6 separate regions of the Homo sapiens genome follow, and regions 1, 3, 4, 5 and 6 are each linked to region 2. Evidence: promoter capture Hi-C in human tissues and cell types (Jung and others, 2019). All regions are on one chromosome and are shown on one strand. The core of a region is centred on a gene start or on the middle of the fragment in contact, and the rest is flanking DNA. Distances in the headings are between cores, read along the strand shown.

Region 1 (2,700 bases), core at 173-2,672, 610 kb before region 2:
TGCTCCCGTGAACCCCAGAAGAGCTTACCCTGTCCCAGGAGGCTCTGCCTGATCCACACCCCGCACCGCTTTCTGCATCCCTGCAACCTGCTCTCCCTACGTCCTCAGTCCTGGCATCCTCTCTGTTCCCTGGACTTGTCCAGCCCAGTCCTGCCTCCAGGCCTTGGCACCTGCTGTGTCCTTGACCTGGCGTGATCTCCTGATAGCTGTTACTGGGCTGGAATCTTCTCAGTGCTCAGCTTGAGCTCAAAGCTCACCTCTTCAGAGAGGCCGTCCTCACCTCCCCATCCAATGTGGCCTTTCTTCCCTTTGCTCTTTCAATTCCCAGTTTGTTTCCTGTAGAGCAGTTTCACCCTCTTCAATCTTGTTTTTTATTTCCTTGTTTATTGTGCCTCCTTTACCAGAACACTCACCCTCTGAGGGCCCGGGCCAGGTCTGTCCTGGTCAGAGCTGTATTCTAGGACCTAGAAAAGTGCCTGGCACAATACCTGCTCAGCAAATGAAGGATGGATTGATGGACAGAAGCCTGTCTTAGCTGAAGGCCCACTTACTGAGCCTTCAAAGTGAATCTAGGCCCTTGGCTGTTTATATCTCTTTTGTGGTTAAATACCAAAGGGCCTTGACAAATCCCTGTTTTGTTTTATGTTTTTTCTCTGTCTCAGTAGCCTTCTCTGCCCATCAGTCCACCTCGAGGAGTTGTAAGTCACCAAGGGCTCTGGGCAGCAAAGCCGTTCCTCAGCAACAAGGAAATGATGTGTGGGATTTCTGTTCCCGCTTTGTCCGTGAGTTAGGCTGAATAAAGGCAGCTTCTTCTCCCCACTCTTGCATCAGCTTCCTAGGGCTGCTAGAACAAGTTCCCACTCAGTTGGTGCCTTAAAACAATAGAAATTCGTTCTCCCACAGTTCTGGAGGCCAGAAGTCCAAAATCCCAGGGCTGTGTTCCCTCCAGGGGCTCCCCAGGCGACTCGGTCCCTCACCTCCTCCCACTTCTCGGGCTTGTGACTGCATCGCTCCAGTCTCTGCCCCTTCCTCCTCTGTGCGTCTGTGTCATCTCCCTCTGCCTGTTTCCCATAAGGACTCTTGCGATAGCATTTAGGGGCCACCTGGGTGATCTAGCGCAATCCTTCCATGTCAAAGTCCTTAACTTCATGACATCTGCAAACCCTTTTGACAAGCAAGGTTGCATGTACAGGTTGCAAGGATGAGGACTTGTGTCTCTGGGTGGCCATTGTGTAACCTACGGTGCGGCTCTACCTCCTCCCGTGACCCTCCTGGAAGCTGGGCTCATTGGCTGCTCTTTCTCTGTGACTCCATATTCTGTTCATGATGTTTTAATCTCTAACCACCTCAGCACCTGAGGGAAAGGCACCTGGCTGTAAAAAAGAAACACTTCTCTTAATTACCCTTGTACCCAGAATACGCACTGGGCAGGGAGCGGCGGGGCCTGGGGCCATCCATCACCCGGTCCTGTCTCTGGCTCTGAGCTGCCGTCCACAGACCCCATCACCACTCTCCTCCGTGGCATTTAATCAGTGGCCTTTCTGGGGGTTCTGAGTGATGCTGCCTCTGTGAGATGAGAAGCTGCAGCTGCCTCTGGAAAGACTGTTTCAGAAGAGGGGGATCCCAGGTTCTCCCTTTGCTGGGTGGGGGCAGGTCACAGGAGATGCTTTGGCCCCTGGGCAGCCCTTGGGGCTCCTGAAACTCCACAGGGGCAGCAACACCATGGACCATGCTACGGACCAGTCTCCTCTAGGCCTGGCCCAGGGACGGGACGGAAGAGATGCCAGAGCTCTGCGCCGCTGCAAGACCCAGTTCCCTGGTTTGCTCATAGCCGCAGCCCTACCATTGCTTCCCTGGGAACTGGCCGGCTGTTCCCATCTCCCCTTTATCCCCAGGCAGCCAAGGAGGCCCAGGACCCAAGTCCTCCCTCATCCCCACTACGGTCTTCCCCAGCTCTGAGGCATGAGGATCCCCCACTCTCCCTGAGACCTTTGACCCCTCCCACTCCCCGAGCCCAAGTGCCCTTCCCATCCTCCATCCCCTCCCTGCCTGCCTTGTCCCACAACCCAGCCACCCCTGCACATACTCAGTTTCTCAGTCATTTACTTGTTTGAGTTCTAGAACACATGCTCTGGGCAGTGAGAGCTTTTGTCTGCAGTGGCTCTGAAGAGGGGGAAGCCCCATGGCTGCCCATCAGGGAAGCAGCTCAGGGCAGCAGGCACCTGCGTGGGGGTGGCAGAGGGTGCAGTCCACTTGGTCTTGGCCAGTCCTTGGTGACCAGGGACAGAGAATGGTGAGGGGCACTAAGACCAGGGCTCTCCAGGGCCTCCTATGGCTGTGGGAGAGGCCTAGCAGGGCTCCTGCTTGGAGGTGATAATGAGGCATCAGAGCCATGGAGGTGAGACCAGTCCCTCCTCCGGTTGCATCCTGTGTTCCCTGCAGCTTTGCGCCTGTACTTGGTGGGGTAATTGTCCCGAAAACCAGCCCAATTGTCCCATAGAACTGATGTTTATGGTTTCTTTTGAGTAAACATAGAAATTGACCCTCCCAGTCTCAACTTGAGAAAGTTACATTTGTCTTATCTGAGTTCCTTTCTCAAGAAAGCAGCCATCAGTCCTCCCACATAGCATCAAGAAACTGAAACTCACCAGATCACTGTATCTGGACAATGAGAGACACCAGATCCCTCACCCATCACGA
Region 2 (2,700 bases), core at 1-2,500:
CTCCGGCCTCTTCTGTGGCGCGAGGGACAGCGGAAACCACGGTAGACAGCACCCCCTTGAGTCCAATTCCTCCCCTTTCGGAGGAAGCCGGTTTCTCCTTTCTATGCTACTCCCGGGCCATTTCTGGACAACAGCTGCTATTTTCACTTGAGCCGAAGTTAATTTCTCGGGGAGTTCTCGGGCGCGCACAGGCAGCTCGGTTTGCCCTGCGATTGAGCTGCGGGTCGCGGCCGGCGCCGGCCTCTCCAATGGCAAATGTGTGTGGCTGGAGGCGAGCGCGAGGCTTTCGGCAAAGGCAGTCGAGTGTTTGCAGACCGGGGCGAGTCCTGTGAAAGCAGATAAAAGAAAACATTTATTAACGTGTCATTACGAGGGGAGCGCCCGGCCGGGGCTGTCGCACTCCCCGCGGAACATTTGGCTCCCTCCAGCTCCGAGAGAGGAGAAGAAGAAAGCGGAAAAGAGGCAGATTCACGTCGTTTCCAGCCAAGTGGACCTGATCGATGGCCCTCCTGAATTTATCACGATATTTGATTTATTAGCGATGCCCCCTGGTTTGTGTGTTACGCACACACACGTGCACACAAGGCTCTGGCTCGCTTCCCTCCCTCGTTTCCAGCTCCTGGGCGAATCCCACATCTGTTTCAACTCTCCGCCGAGGGCGAGCAGGAGCGAGAGTGTGTCGAGTGAGTGTGCGTCTGTGTGTCCCGGCGAGGGTGCGCGCTCGGCGCCGGGAGCGCGGCCAGCCGAGTCCGGAGGCATCGGGAGGTCGAGAGCCGCCGGGACCCCAGCTCTGCGTTCACTGCCCCGTCCGGAGCTGGACTTCGGGGCCGGGGCCGGGGCCGTGCGCCGGGGACAGGCAGGGCCGGGTCGCGGGCCGCGCGTCCCCCAGGCCGGAGGTAAAAGCGCTAGCGCGCGGAGGGCTCGAGGAGGGCACCGCGGCTGGGCCCCCCGCGCCCCGGGCCCCAGCCGTCCGCGGCTCCCGGCCCGACGCTCCCCGCCCCGGAGCGCGCCCGCCTCCCCTGCGTGGAGGCCGGCGGGCAGGCGAGCGGGGGGCGGTAGCGCCGTGCCAAGGGGCTGGCTGGGGCAGCGTGGCCGGCCGGGCTGGGGCGATTTAAGAGCGGTCCGGGCGGGGTGCGGAGCCGGACTTTGGCTGGGGCGGCGCGCGGGGAGGGGGCCGGGGGCGGTGGCGGCGGCGTTGGGGGGCGGGGAGGAGGCAGGAGGAGGAGCAGCAGCGCTCGCCGGGGGATGCAGCAGCGGCAGCGGCGGCGGCGGCGGCGGCAGCGGCAGCGGCGGCGCGGAGTCCCCTGCGCCCAGCGGCCCGGCCGGGCTGCGGCAGAGGCGGCGGCGGCGCCCCGCTCCGGGTGAGGTTGCCGGGGCCGTGCGCGCTGGTGAGTGGGGCGTGGGGGGCAGGTGGGTGGCTGGGGGACGCGGGGCTCGGGCGGGGGCTCGCGGCGGCCGGAGCCTTCCCCGGCGTGAGCCCGGCCGCGAGCGCCGCCCAGGTGAGCCGGGGCTGGTCCGGACCGCCCGGCTCCAGCCCCAGCGCTGCTTGCGGAGGTGGGTCCGGGCGGGCGGGAGGGAGGCTCCGGCGCCGGCCGTCCGCAGAGGGATGACCTGTTTGACCCCGCTGGCTGGCGGGCGGGCGAGGACTTCCCGCCGCGCCCCTGACCCGCGGACACGGCACACCGAGCACAGGCGGCCCCGGGTAGGGGAGCGCGCCTGGGCCGGCCATCCGCAGGGGCATGGCCTTGTTGACCCTTAGGGTTTAGACCCAAGGGACCGGTAGATGCCAGCCCACGTGGGGCTTGTCCGGGCAGGACTCGGGGAAGCAGTGGGCCGGATCTTCAGAGTGGTTGGAAACTCGCAGACACCGAAAGGACAAACAGGATCGAAAAGGCAGACTTCCTCCCAGGCCAGGGCAGAACGAGTTTCCATCGCCTGGCGGAGGGATGCTCCCCTCCCCGGCTCCTCGGGGTTTCAGAAGTCTAGCGGTGAATTCTAGGAGTGCACTTTTCCAAACATTCCTTATAGTAGTTCGTTCATTCGTTCTACAAGCATTTCTGGAGCACCCCCTCGTGCCGGGCACCGCGTTCTGTTCCAGGGAAACGCGGCTGAACAGGATCTGGCTCCTGCGCGCCAGAAGCTGCCGGTTCACTGGGAGGGCAGCAGGGTAGAGAGATGCCGTCTCGGGGTGGAAGATGGAAAGGGAAGCCTGCAATCCTAGTTTGCACACTGGCCTCGGTCCGCAACTCCCCCACCTGCACGCAGTAGGCCCAGCACACAGTAGGAAGAGCAAGCCAGACCTGCCTGTGACGACCCTCTCCTCCTCCTCCTCCCCCTTGAAAGCTTTGATTCATTCCCTGCCCCCCTTTCTGGAAAGTCTTCCTGCAGCTTGTTTTAATCACTTTTTGAGTTAAAAGTCAATATTTAATTAACCAAGTAATTACATTCAGCTTACGTTTCAATCTGGGTATTTGCTCATCTGTGCGTGTTGGGACACCCGCCCTCTCGCCCCTCCATCTGTCCCCTGCCTGTTTCCCACCGGGTCCACCCCCACTTTTGGGGCAGAGAAGGGGAGGCTGCGCTGGAGCAGGTTCTCAGGGGGAGACAGGGAGCAGGAGAGACGGGCTTTCTCTGGAGGACACCCCCGGATCTGCGCGCTCTCCAAATTTCAGCTTGTAGTGAATAGTGAAGGTGATTTCT
Region 3 (2,700 bases), core at 41-2,540, 650 kb before region 2:
ATTGCACCACTGCACTCCAGCCTAGGCAACAAGAATGAAACTCTGTCTTTAAAAAAAAAAAAATCTGAAAGTAAGTTATCCCCTGCTGAAATGGTAATTCCCTTTCCTCCTTTATCAGTTTTGGAGGGCTAAATATTTGGCATATGAGGTTTATTTCTTTTCAAGGGAGCATCCAGCAGACATTAAATTCTCCAAGGGAGGCCCTGTTGAGACGAAGTGCCCCTTCATCCCCACTCCACTTCAAGAGCCTTGTTGCTTGGGAGGGAACTCCCTGTTTTTATCTGTGAAGGGAAAAACAAAGGGTGGTGGGCGGGGGCGCCCTTAAAAGAAATGCCTGGAGTTTTGTTGACTTTCAAAGCTTTCCTTAAATGAAACTATCTTCTATTATCGTTGATGAAAACAATCAACCCCTGTCAAGTATTTGGAGAGATTTATTCTGATGTGAGTGACCACGATCCATGGTCACATTCAGATTTGAGTGACCATGACCCATGACAAAGCCCCAGGAGAGCCTGAGAACACGTGCCCAAGGGGGTCAGACTATAGCTTGGTTTTATACATGTTAGAGAGACATAAGACATCAATCGATACATGTAAGATGTACACTGGTTTGGTTCAAAAAGGTGGGACAACTCAAAGTGGGGTGCTTCCAGGACATAGGTGGATTCAAAGATTTTCTGATTGGCAATTGGTTGAAAGAGTTAAGTGGTTACCTAAAGTCTCGGAATCAATAGAAAGGAGTGTCTGGGTTAAGATAAGGGGCTGTGGTGACTGAGGTTCTTATTACACAGATGAAGCCTCCAAGTAGCTGGCTTTAGAGAGAAGAGATTGTATTACTTTTAATGGCATTACAATTACTTTTAATACCATTACTTTAAATGGCAAAAACCGCAATTACTTTTGCACCAACCTAATACATGTTTCTTATCAGGGCTATTTCACAATATGTCAAAGAAATATATTTTAGGGTAAAATACTTCAATTTCTTTCAGAGCCCGCTGTCATGTTGGTATCTTATTGCTATAAAAAGTCTATTGTCAGTCTTTAGGACTCTGTTTTAATGTTAATGCTGGTCAGCTGTGCCTCAACTGCAAAAGGACGAGGTGTAATGAGGCCTGTCTGACCATCCATTCCCATCGTGGCTTGAACTAGTGTTTCAGGTTGATTTAGGGTACCCTTGGCTGACAGGAGGGGTCCATTCAGTTGCTTGGGGGGCTTAGAATTTTATTCTTGGTTTACAATTCAGAAGAATAGAAGAAATCCTTCATTTGCTTTTCAGGCGGGAAATCCCACAGACTCATGCTAATTGCCACTTGGACTTGGCATTTCCATGAACCTTCAACAAATGGCAACTCAGACATTTGCTACTTTTTAGGGGCCATTCAGTCACTGTAGCTCCTGCTGAACCCACCGGCTGAAAAATTCCTCCTACCCTCCAAGGGTAAAAAAAACTCCAAAGATGGATTCATCCATTTAGTCAGCAGACACGCTGGGAATGTGGAGGTGAAAATAAAGCCAAGCCTGGTTTTGTAGGAAGCATGTAAACCGGAGCAGCTCCATCTTAAATAGGAGCTGGGTAAAATGAGGCTGAGATCTACTGGGCTGCATTCCCAGACAGGCACTCTAAGTCACAGGATGAGAAGGTTGGCACGAGATACAGGTCATAAAGGGCATTCCCAGACAGGCATTCTAAGTCACAGGATGAGAAGGTTGGCACGAGATACAGGTCATAAAGACCTCGCTGATAAAACAGGCTGCAGTAGAGAAGCCAGCCAAAGCCCACCAAAACCAAAATGGCCACGAGAGTGACCTCTGGTTGTCCTCACTGCTACACTCCCCCCAGCACCATGACAGTTTACAAATGCCATGGCAACGTCAGGAAGTTACCCTATATGGTCTAAAAATAGGAGGCATGAATAATCCGCCCCTTGTTTGGCATATCACCAAGAAATAACCATAAAAATGGGCCCACCCTCAGGGCTGCTCTGTCTGCGGACTAGCCATTCTTTTATTCCTTTACTTTTCTAATAAACTTGCTTTCACTTTACTCTGTGGACTTGCCCTGAATTCTTTCTTGTGTGAGATCCAAGAACCCTCTCTTGGGGTCTGGATTGGTACTCCTTTCCTGTAACAGTTTTAGCTACTCGCAGACTCACCCCAGCTGCAGGGACAGTGTGACAGAGGCTTTTGTGCCTGGTCCTTAGGCTCCTGGTTTACATCTATGCAACGGCTTCCTATAACCAGCCCCTCCAACTGTGGGCCAGGGGCTTTCTCTGGCTGCTGGGGCATGCTCAGCCCATGTAGGGGGAAGGGTCAGGCAGTTATGACTCTAGGAACCTTCCACAACCAGCGACAGACAGGAGTCAGTGCACAAACAGCCCAGCTCTTCAAGAGGCCCCCAGTGGGAGGAAGCCCTAGTGGCCCAGATCAGAACCTCCTTGGGTCCTCGGTCTGTACTGACTTCCTTTCTTCTCCTCAGATACTTGCTCTGTACTGACTTCTTTCCTTCTCCTCAGATACTCTCTACTGACTTCTTTCCTTCTCTTCAGATACTCACTCTGTACTGACTTCCTTCCTTCTTCTCGGGTCTTCACTCTGTACTGACTTCCTTCCTTCTCCTCAGATACTCACTCTCTACTGACTTCCTTCTCCTCAGATACTCACTCTGTACTGACTTCCTTCCTTCTCCTCGGGTCCTCA
Region 4 (2,700 bases), core at 51-2,550, 870 kb before region 2:
GAGAAGAGCGAGTTCAGGGATGAGTCCCAGTACTTCCGCTTTCATGCTGACGAGGAGATGGAGGGGACCAGCAGCAAGAACAAACAGCTTCGCAACGACTTCAAGCTGGTGGAGAACATTCTGGCCAAGCGCCTGCTGGTAGGAGCACAGCTGAGCAGCTGTCCCTTCCTTGCCAGAGCCCCCTGCAGGCATGGGAGCTGGGCGACCTTCTGGTTATGCACAGGGAAGGGGGCTCAGCTTGGAGTACCAGAATAGGTGGATTCTAGGTGGTAGGGGGCAACTCTGCCAAGAAGCCAGGCTGCATCACTGGCTGAGACTACCCTCCTAACAAAAGAGATTGGGCTTGCAGGTCTCCCTTTCTGTTCCCTTGCCTCTCCTGTCCCCTCCCCGTACACTGTATAGAGAGGTTGGCCTCCTGAAGCAACTCATCCTGCATACCCCACAGCAGCCCCCATCTTAACGCGTGGCCTGCAGCAGGCAGTCAAGACAGAGGCTCAGAGGTTAGGTTTCTGGTCACTGCCAGGGTTGGAGCTGAAGCCTGACTCATATGAAGACGGCTCCATTAACTTCTCTCCCATAGTACTGCAGGGACTGCTGTTCCCTCTGATTTCATGCCCCTCACTGTAAAGTCCCCCAATGCTTCCCGTCACACTTAGGATAAAATTAAACCTCTCACTCCCCTCCCCTCCCCTTCTCTCTTTCCTCTTTCCCTCCCTTCCTCCTTCCTTCCTCTCTCTTCTTTCTTTTCTCTTTTCTTGTTTTCTTTTCTTCTTTCTCTCTCTCTCTCGTGCCCGTCCTTCCTTCCTTCCTTCCTTCCTTCCTTTTCTTTCTCTCCTCCCCTTTCTTTCTTCCCTCCCCTCCCCTCCATTCCCCTCTCTCCCCTCCCTTCCCCTTTCTCCCCTCCCCTCTCTCCTCTCTCCTCTCCTCTGCCTCCCCAGTGGCTAGGACAACAGACCTGCGCCACCACACCCAGCTAATTTTTGTATTTTTTATAAAGACAGGGTTTTGCTATGTTGCCCAGGCTGGTCTTGAACTCCTGGGATCAAGCGATCAACCCGTCTCGGCCTCCCAAAGTGCTGGGATTACAAGCGTGAGCCATTGCGCCTGACCTCCTGATCTCTTTTCTTATCCTCCAGTGCCTTGGGGCCTCCCTCAGGACCTTTGTACGTGCTGTGTCTGCTGCCTGGAGCATGTTCCTCCACTCTTTATGAAGTTTTGTTTTTCATTTCGTTCAGGCCTCAGCTCCGATAGCACCTTCTCTGCCCCCTTGCCGTGCCCTATCCCATTAAGTGCTTTAATTCCAACTACGTACACTCCCTGCATCACATCCTGTATTTCTTTTGTTTATTTGTTTATAGTTGGCCTCCCGCACTAAGCAGGGCTGGGCTTGTTTGTCTTGTTCTAGATGGTGTCTCCAGCACCCATGAGAACTGCCTGGCCCGTGTGATGGGCAGCATCTCAATCAATGTCTGTTGACTGAATGAGTGCCTTTCCCTGTATCCCCCGCACTGGGGAACCCCCAGACCTGTTTCTAGCATGCCTGCCATCCTGCCCTGGGGTGGGACCGCTCCTCCCTAAACTCCCTGACTCCACATTCTTGGTGGCTGGACACCTTTGGATCCGTGTGATTCGTTAAGCCAGTGGCAGGCACAGAGTGAGCACTGGCTCTGCCAGGTGCTGTTTGCGTTTTGCTCTGTCTCGCCCACCTGGATCTGGCCACTTCCCTACTAGACCTGGGACGAGGTCATGGTCCTGTGGGGGCCACGGTGGGGCTGGCCGTAGGCCCACCTCGCTCCCTGACCGGGTTCCTTCTGCCCTGGGCCCCCAGATCCTGCCCCAGGAGGAGGACTATGGCTTTGACATCGAGGAGAAGAACAAGGCTGTGGTGGTGAAGTCCGTCCAGAGGGGCTCGCTGGCTGAGGTGAGGCCCTCGGGGGAGCTGGCAGGGACCGTGTGCAGGTGGCAGAGCGGGGTGTCTCTCTTCACCCTCCTTGAGGCAGCCCAGCCCAGGAGATTCTGGAATGATCGCTGACTCCTCTTCTCTCATTGCTCACGTGGAGAAACTGAGTCCAGGACCCACTGTCTGCAGTGGCTACAGTAGCTGGGAGTGAGTGCAGAGTCCCGGGGCTGTGCTCCTGGTGTGTTCCACCACTGCCCTCTGCTGGACATTGTGGGGAGGTACAGGAAAAAAGCAGGTGTCTCAGTTTTCTGCAACCAGTCACAGTGGCTTGAATAAGATAAGCTCATTGCTGTCTGATGCAAAGCCTACAGGAGGATAGGTTAGGAGAGTGAGGGTGTGGCTGGCCGAGGATTCAGCCCTGGGGCCTTCCGGCTTTGCCTGGGGCGTGTGCAGGTGGGTGGGGGAGATGCACCTGCCGTGCTGGCTGGAGCCCAGCTTGCCCCTGTGGCAATTAGGAATGCTTTGGGCTGCAAGGAGCGACATACCCATGGCCGGAGCGGCTAGGTTGACCTTGCCAGTGATGTGAGCGGTTGGAAGGAGGCAGTTGTGAATCTTGGTTCGGGTCAGCAGGTCTTCATCTTTCTTCGCCAGGCCCTAACAGACATAAGATGGCCACCCCGGTGTGACCCTCGTGTCCCCACACAACAGGGTCAGGCCCCAGCAGAGTTTCCCCTCAGGAGGAATACCTTTCCCAGCTGCCCTCCCATGAGCTTCCCTTTGTGGCTCATGAGGCAGAACCA
Region 5 (2,700 bases), core at 131-2,630, 700 kb before region 2:
CTTCCTCCTGTCCTTCCTTCCTTCCTTCCTTCCTTCTTTTCTCTCTCTCTCTCTCTCTCCCCAACACCCCGCCCTGCCATCTTTCTTTGTCTCTTTCTTTTTTTTAGAGGCAGAATCTCACTCTATTGCCCAGGCTGCAGTGCAGTGGTCCAATCTTGGCTCACTGCAGCCTCTGCCTCCTGGGTTCAAGATATTCTTCTGCCTCAACTTCCCAAGTAGCTGGGACTACATGTGTGTGCACCATGTCCGGCTAATTTTTTTTGTGTTAGTAGAGATGGTATTTCACCATGTTGGCCTGGCTGGTCTCGAACTCCTGACCTCAAGTGATCCACCTGCCTCTGCCTCCCAAAGTGCTGGTCTGGCCTGTGTTTTCCTTTAAGCCCCTTGTATTCCTGGGCTCGCGGCCCCTTCCTCCATATTCAAGCACATGATTCCAGTCTCTGCCCTGTCACTATAGCTCCTCTGACTCAGACTCTCCTGCCTCCCTCTTATAAGGACCCCTGTGATTACACTGGGCCCAGCCAGGTCATCTAGAGTCATCTTTCTATCTCAAGATCCTTTACTTAATTACATCAGCAAAACCTCTTTGCAATGGACATATACACAGGTCCCAGGGGTTTGAATGTAGACATGTATGGGGGGCCCTTGTTCAACCCCCTATGGGGGGTGGTTGTTGATTTTCAGTAGGATGGTCAGGGAAGACCCCGCTGAGAAGCCACCATTTGAGCAAAGACCGGAGGAGCTGAGGCTGTGGGCCAGGATGACAAGGGTGGAGCCTTCCAGGCAAAAGAATAGTGAGTACAAAGCCAGCAACAGGTGTGCTGGCATGTTCCAGGAAAATCAGGGAGGGAGCCACAGCTGCGGCCGAGTGAGGAGAGGAGCAGCGGGAGGTGAGGTCAGAGAAGCCTTGGGGGCAGAAGCTGCGGGCCTCATGGTTATCATGAAGCTCGGGGTTTTACTCTGAGTATGTGGAAACCATGGAGAGTTCTGAGCAGAGGAAGCACAGGACCTGACCTGGGTTTCACAGGCTTCCTCTGGCTGCTGTGTGGAAAATAGGGAAAGCAAGAGTGGAAGAAGGGAGGCCTGTCAGGAAGCTTTTGCACAATGGCCTTGGTGAGAAAGATTCATGGCTTGGAGCAGATGCTGGGATGTGTCCCCCACATCCCCTTTCAGGAGCAGGCATGCATGCCCCACTGCCCAGGGGGTTGCCTGCTGAGAGCTCACAGCTGAGACCCTCCCCAGAAAATGCCCCTGGCTGACAGGAGCTGCTTTGCCCAGTCACCCTTCCTGGGGTCCCTCCATCTCCAAAGACTAGTAGTAAACACAGGGGTCTAAAGGTCCAGCCCCTTGACTCGATTCATCACAGCTCTGAAGGGCCGTCTTTGCTGCAGACTTCCTCAAAGGATGGATTGCAAAGTCATGCGTAGAGTGTGCAGGGCTCAGGTGACTATCTATATGTCTGTCTATATTTTAGGATCCCTGTCTATATGAGCAATTTGTTAAAATATATATTTCAAAATTCCTGAGCCCACATGAAATCTATTGATGTATCCACAAAGGTGTAGAATAATGGATAGAGAAGGGGTACTTATGTGGTTTATTGTCCAACAGATTGTGTGAAAGTTTTTTGTCATGTCCAAGCAGCACCTCCTTCTGGTCAGGCCCACGTTATATACGAGAACAATGGAACAAGTCGAAGACAAAGCAACACGTCCCCCTGTAAAAACTGTCAGTGTAACTGTCCACTTCCGTATCTGTCCAGTCACTTAACAAATATTGACAGACCATCTTTAAACACAGGCTGCTGTGCTGGTGTCTGGGACACAGCGGTGAGTAAGAGCCGTAAGAGCCATCTGATCTCATGACACTCTCAGGAAGTTCCAGTCTATGAGGATGGACAGCATGCAGGTCAACACATAAACATCATTCAGACTGTGAAAGATACAATAAAGGACACAGATTGGGAGATGGGATAAAGAGTCATGGGGGTGGAGCTACTGTCTCATTTTGGGTGGTCTGGGAAGGCCTCTCTGAGGAGGTGACATGTGGGCTGAGTCCTGAAGGATAAGAAGGGGCTGCCATGGGTGATTTGAGGGAACAGCACACTAGGTGGAAGGAACAGCAAGTGCAAAGGCCAGAGATCAGGAGGATCAGAGATGGGGACAGAGTATCTAAGAAATTGGGAGAGTGGTAAGAGATGGGGATGTAGAGACACTGTCAGGTGAGATAGGGAAGGGAGCCAGGTGTGGTGGCTGACACCTGTAATCCACCAGCCTGGGCAATGTGGCGAGACTTCATGTCTTAAAAAAAAAAAAAAGCCAGATGTGGTGGCACATGCCTGTGGTCCCAGCTACTGAGGAGGCAGGAGGATCATCTGAGCCTGGAAGGTTGAGGCTGCAGTGAGTCAAGATCATGCCCCTGTAATCCAGCCTGGGTGGGTGACAGAACAAGAACCTGTGTCCAAAAAAAAAAAAAAAAAAGGAAAAAAAAGGGAAGAGAATGTCACATTGCAATGACAGTGTTTTGTTTCATTTAAACAATTTTCTCTCCCTTTTGAGTCCAGCCTGACACTCAGGAGACGGAGAGAGCCTTCCGCTCATTCTGCCTCAGGAGGAGCTCGAACCTGCTCCCTTAAATCTCCATCAGCTCCGGCAAGCCCTTGGGCTCTGCTGGCTGTAACGCTGCTCCCTGTTTACCAGA
Region 6 (2,723 bases), core at 48-2,547, 680 kb before region 2:
GAGTGCCATGATGAGGAAGGAGGGTTTCGTGCAATGTCATGAGCATCATAGATGTCTGAGCAGGGGGCACTGTGACCTTCACACTCCACAATGAGCTCTCTGGCTGCCACATGGACAACAGGCTGGAAAGGGCAGGAGTGGACCCGGGAGAAAGGATGAGGCTGGTGCAGTAGCAATTATGCCCATCAGGATGGTCAGGGGAAAGAAAAGTAGTGCAAAAACGTCTCTCCTTCTCCTGTAGCCCATGGTTATCTCCTAAACAACTATGCAAAAGATAAACACCCAAACGCTCCAGCAAAACCCAAAACCAAAACCAAAGCAACATCCCCATGGCTTCTGAAGGTAAAGGGTAGAGATGAATATCTATGAAGCATTTACCACCATGTGTTTGAGGAGGAAAAGATAAAAATCTTATGATTTTGTTCCCTTGAGGACCTTAAATATCAAATTGAAAATATACTGTATTTCAAAATGGTGTTTCCCCAAAGAGTGGAGGGGTGCCCACCAAAGATACGTGAGATAGGCCAGGCGTTGTGGCTCTCAGCTGTAATCCTAGCGCTCTGGGAGTCTGAGGCAGGTGGATCACCTGAGGTTAGGAGTTCAAGACCAGCCTGGCCAACGTGGCAAAACTCCGTCTCTACTAAAAATACAAAAATTAGTTGGGCATGGTGGCGGACATCTATAACACCAGCTACCCAGGAGGCTGAGGCAGGAGGATCGCTTGAACCCGGGAGATGGAGGTTGCAGTGAGCCGAGATCGCGCCACTGTACTCCAGCCTGGGTGAAAGAGCGAAACACCGTCTCAAAAAAAAAAAAAAAATGATATGTGAATATGTGAGATGATTTTGGGTGGTTCCTGAACCAGCATGAAACGCTGTGGAATCCCACAGTGTGAAATGTATTCCCTTGCCCAGTGTCTTTCAGTCTCTCTGAGATAGTCATGGAGATAGTTTCAGTTCAATGCTCATGTGACTTCAATACCTCTCTACTGCTTGAGAGAGACAAAGGTGAAACTGCCTTCACACAAATTATAACTGAGGAAATTATGACAGTCAAAGACATCACACCTAACTGACTCTATCTTGCTTCTAACCTTTAAACTGCCCTTGTTCCTTGCTGGGCACAGGCCAAACTAACTTTGAGAAAGAATTCAGTTCATGATTTGACTCAAACAAAATTGGTTATAGCCTTTTCTTGCCTGGGGAGCCGTCTGCCTTTGCAGGACTAACAAATTACAGCCTCTGGCTGCAAGAGTCTGAACCTCCCCAAATTGCTCCTGGGAATAACATCACTGTTGTAAAACCTAAGATCAGCGCTTGAGATATTTTGCAGCCCCTGCACTTGATGGATCAGCTGACACCACCCAGACCGGTCATCTGCCTCAACCAGTTCCGCCGTCCCACCCAGGAACAGAAGACAGCATGAAAACCTCACTTCTACCCCCATGATTCCATCTCCAACCTGACCAATCAGCTCTCCCCACTTTCTGAGCGCCTACTTACCAAATTATCTTTAAGAACTCTGATCCCCGAATGCTCAGGGAGACTGATTTGAGTAACAATAAAGCTCCAGTCTCCCGCACAGCCGGCTCTGCATGGGTTACTTTCTCCATTGCAATTTCCCCTGTCTTGATAAGTCGGCTCAGTCTAGGCAGTGGGCAAGGTGAACCCCTTGGGTGGTTACAAAGGGAGCACAGGTTTCAGGTGCATCGTCTTTAGCAGCCTCTGGCTAGAAAGTAATAACACGGCTCTGTTTTTGTTGTGTGTTTTCATGGATACTCTTCTATTCATGGAAGTGATACTGATTTTTCATTTGCAGTAGTGGAATATCAAAGTTCCTTTAAAAAATTCTAAAAATGTAACTGATTTAGAGATAAATTTTGACTAGATCAGAATATAGATGAGATGCAGCTATTTCGAAAGTCATGACGGAGGCAGATGCAAATCAGATCATGTCACTCACATCTCGGCTCACTGCCCTGAACCTTCCAATGGCTTCTTCCCTCACTCAGAAGCAGATCCACACTCCTGGCTGTGGCCTGGAGAGCCCCACATGATCTGGGCCTCAGGTAGCTCTCAGACCTCCTCTCCTCCCTCTCTGTCACTCCACTGTGGTCACACTGACCTTTCCCAGCGCAGGGACTCTGCACTTGCTGTTTTCTCTGCCTGCACTCTCTTCCTCTAGAAATGTGTATTGCTCATCACTCAGTCCATCCAGCTCTCTACACATTTCTCCTCCTCCTAGCAGCCCTCCAAGACCACCACATCTAATATAATTCCTCCCGTGACTTTCAGGCCCATGGTGTGGTCTCATCCAGGGGTCCCCAACTTCATCCAGAGCATGAAGTGAGGGGATGTGTGCAGGATCAAGTGGCTGGGGTAAAGTAAGTAAAGTAATAATAACTACCAGGTGATATTCACAACCCATATTAGTGCTACCAACAGCCACATCTGCCTGCTTCTCTGGGCCCAGGATTGTCTGCAAGCTCCCGGTCCTAGGTGGGTCAGCAGAAGGGTCTGACATTATGAGAAGGAGCAGCTTGTCCAGCTCATGGCCTGTTCTGTGCACTGGGAGTCCCTGTCCCCCATAGCTGTTCCCCAGGGCCTGATCCCAGGTGGGCTCGGGAGGTCCCAGGGCTGAGCGGCTTCCAGCCAGGGTTCTGCCCTGTGCTGTGTGTCTGTGGGAGTGACACCCCCACCCCCAACCCACCCGCCCTGCCAGCT

The links. The method cuts DNA at HindIII sites, captures the fragments that hold promoters and counts their contacts. A contact is called where the count stands out against the background at its distance.
Region 1: a contact is called between a fragment that was not itself captured here and the fragment with the promoter of SULF2 in region 2, in 5 of the 25 tissues and cell types used here (dorsolateral prefrontal cortex, heart right ventricle, lymphoblastoid cells and 2 more).
Region 3: a fragment that was not itself captured here is called in contact with the fragment with the promoter of SULF2 in region 2 in 3 of the 25 tissues and cell types used here (IMR-90 fibroblasts, dorsolateral prefrontal cortex and lymphoblastoid cells).
Region 4: a fragment that was not itself captured here is called in contact with the fragment with the promoter of SULF2 in region 2 in 1 of the 25 tissues and cell types used here (hippocampus).
Region 5: a fragment that was not itself captured here is called in contact with the fragment with the promoter of SULF2 in region 2 in 5 of the 25 tissues and cell types used here (IMR-90 fibroblasts, aorta, heart left ventricle and 2 more).
Region 6: a contact is called between a fragment that was not itself captured here and the fragment with the promoter of SULF2 in region 2, in 2 of the 25 tissues and cell types used here (lymphoblastoid cells and spleen).

The regions. Positions count from the first base shown.
Region 1 is chr20:48,392,229-48,394,928 of GRCh38, reverse strand. LOC105372643 (a long non-coding RNA gene) reads right to left here and starts at 748. Exons shown (of 3, transcript XR_936812.3): 1 at 1-748. The HindIII fragment of the contact is 7,322 bases long and covers 1-2,700 here.
Region 2 is chr20:47,784,031-47,786,730 of GRCh38, reverse strand. It overlaps SULF2 (sulfatase 2), which reads left to right and starts at 1,250. Exons shown (of 21, transcript NM_001387048.1): 1 at 1,250-1,388. LOC124904920 (a long non-coding RNA gene) reads right to left here and starts at 977. Exons shown (of 2, transcript XR_007067618.1): 1 at 569-977; 2 at 1-326. RefSeq lists an enhancer at 1-132. The HindIII fragment of the contact is 5,454 bases long and covers 1-2,700 here.
Region 3 is chr20:48,431,580-48,434,279 of GRCh38, reverse strand. No RefSeq gene overlaps it. Among named protein-coding and RNA genes, the nearest start is that of LINC00494, 73 kb to the right of the region's middle. The HindIII fragment of the contact is 3,229 bases long and covers 1-2,700 here.
Region 4 is chr20:48,657,357-48,660,056 of GRCh38, reverse strand. It overlaps PREX1 (phosphatidylinositol-3,4,5-trisphosphate dependent Rac exchange factor 1), which reads left to right. Exons shown (of 40, transcript NM_020820.4): 16 at 1-138; 17 at 1,829-1,921. Among named protein-coding and RNA genes, the nearest start is that of PREX1, 170 kb to the left of the region's middle. The HindIII fragment of the contact is 7,109 bases long and covers 1-2,700 here.
Region 5 is chr20:48,484,419-48,487,118 of GRCh38, reverse strand. No RefSeq gene overlaps it. Among named protein-coding and RNA genes, the nearest start is that of LINC00494, 130 kb to the right of the region's middle. The HindIII fragment of the contact is 5,666 bases long and covers 1-2,700 here.
Region 6 is chr20:48,460,167-48,462,889 of GRCh38, reverse strand. No RefSeq gene overlaps it. Among named protein-coding and RNA genes, the nearest start is that of LINC00494, 100 kb to the right of the region's middle. RefSeq lists an enhancer at 2,009-2,148. The HindIII fragment of the contact is 7,169 bases long and covers 1-2,723 here.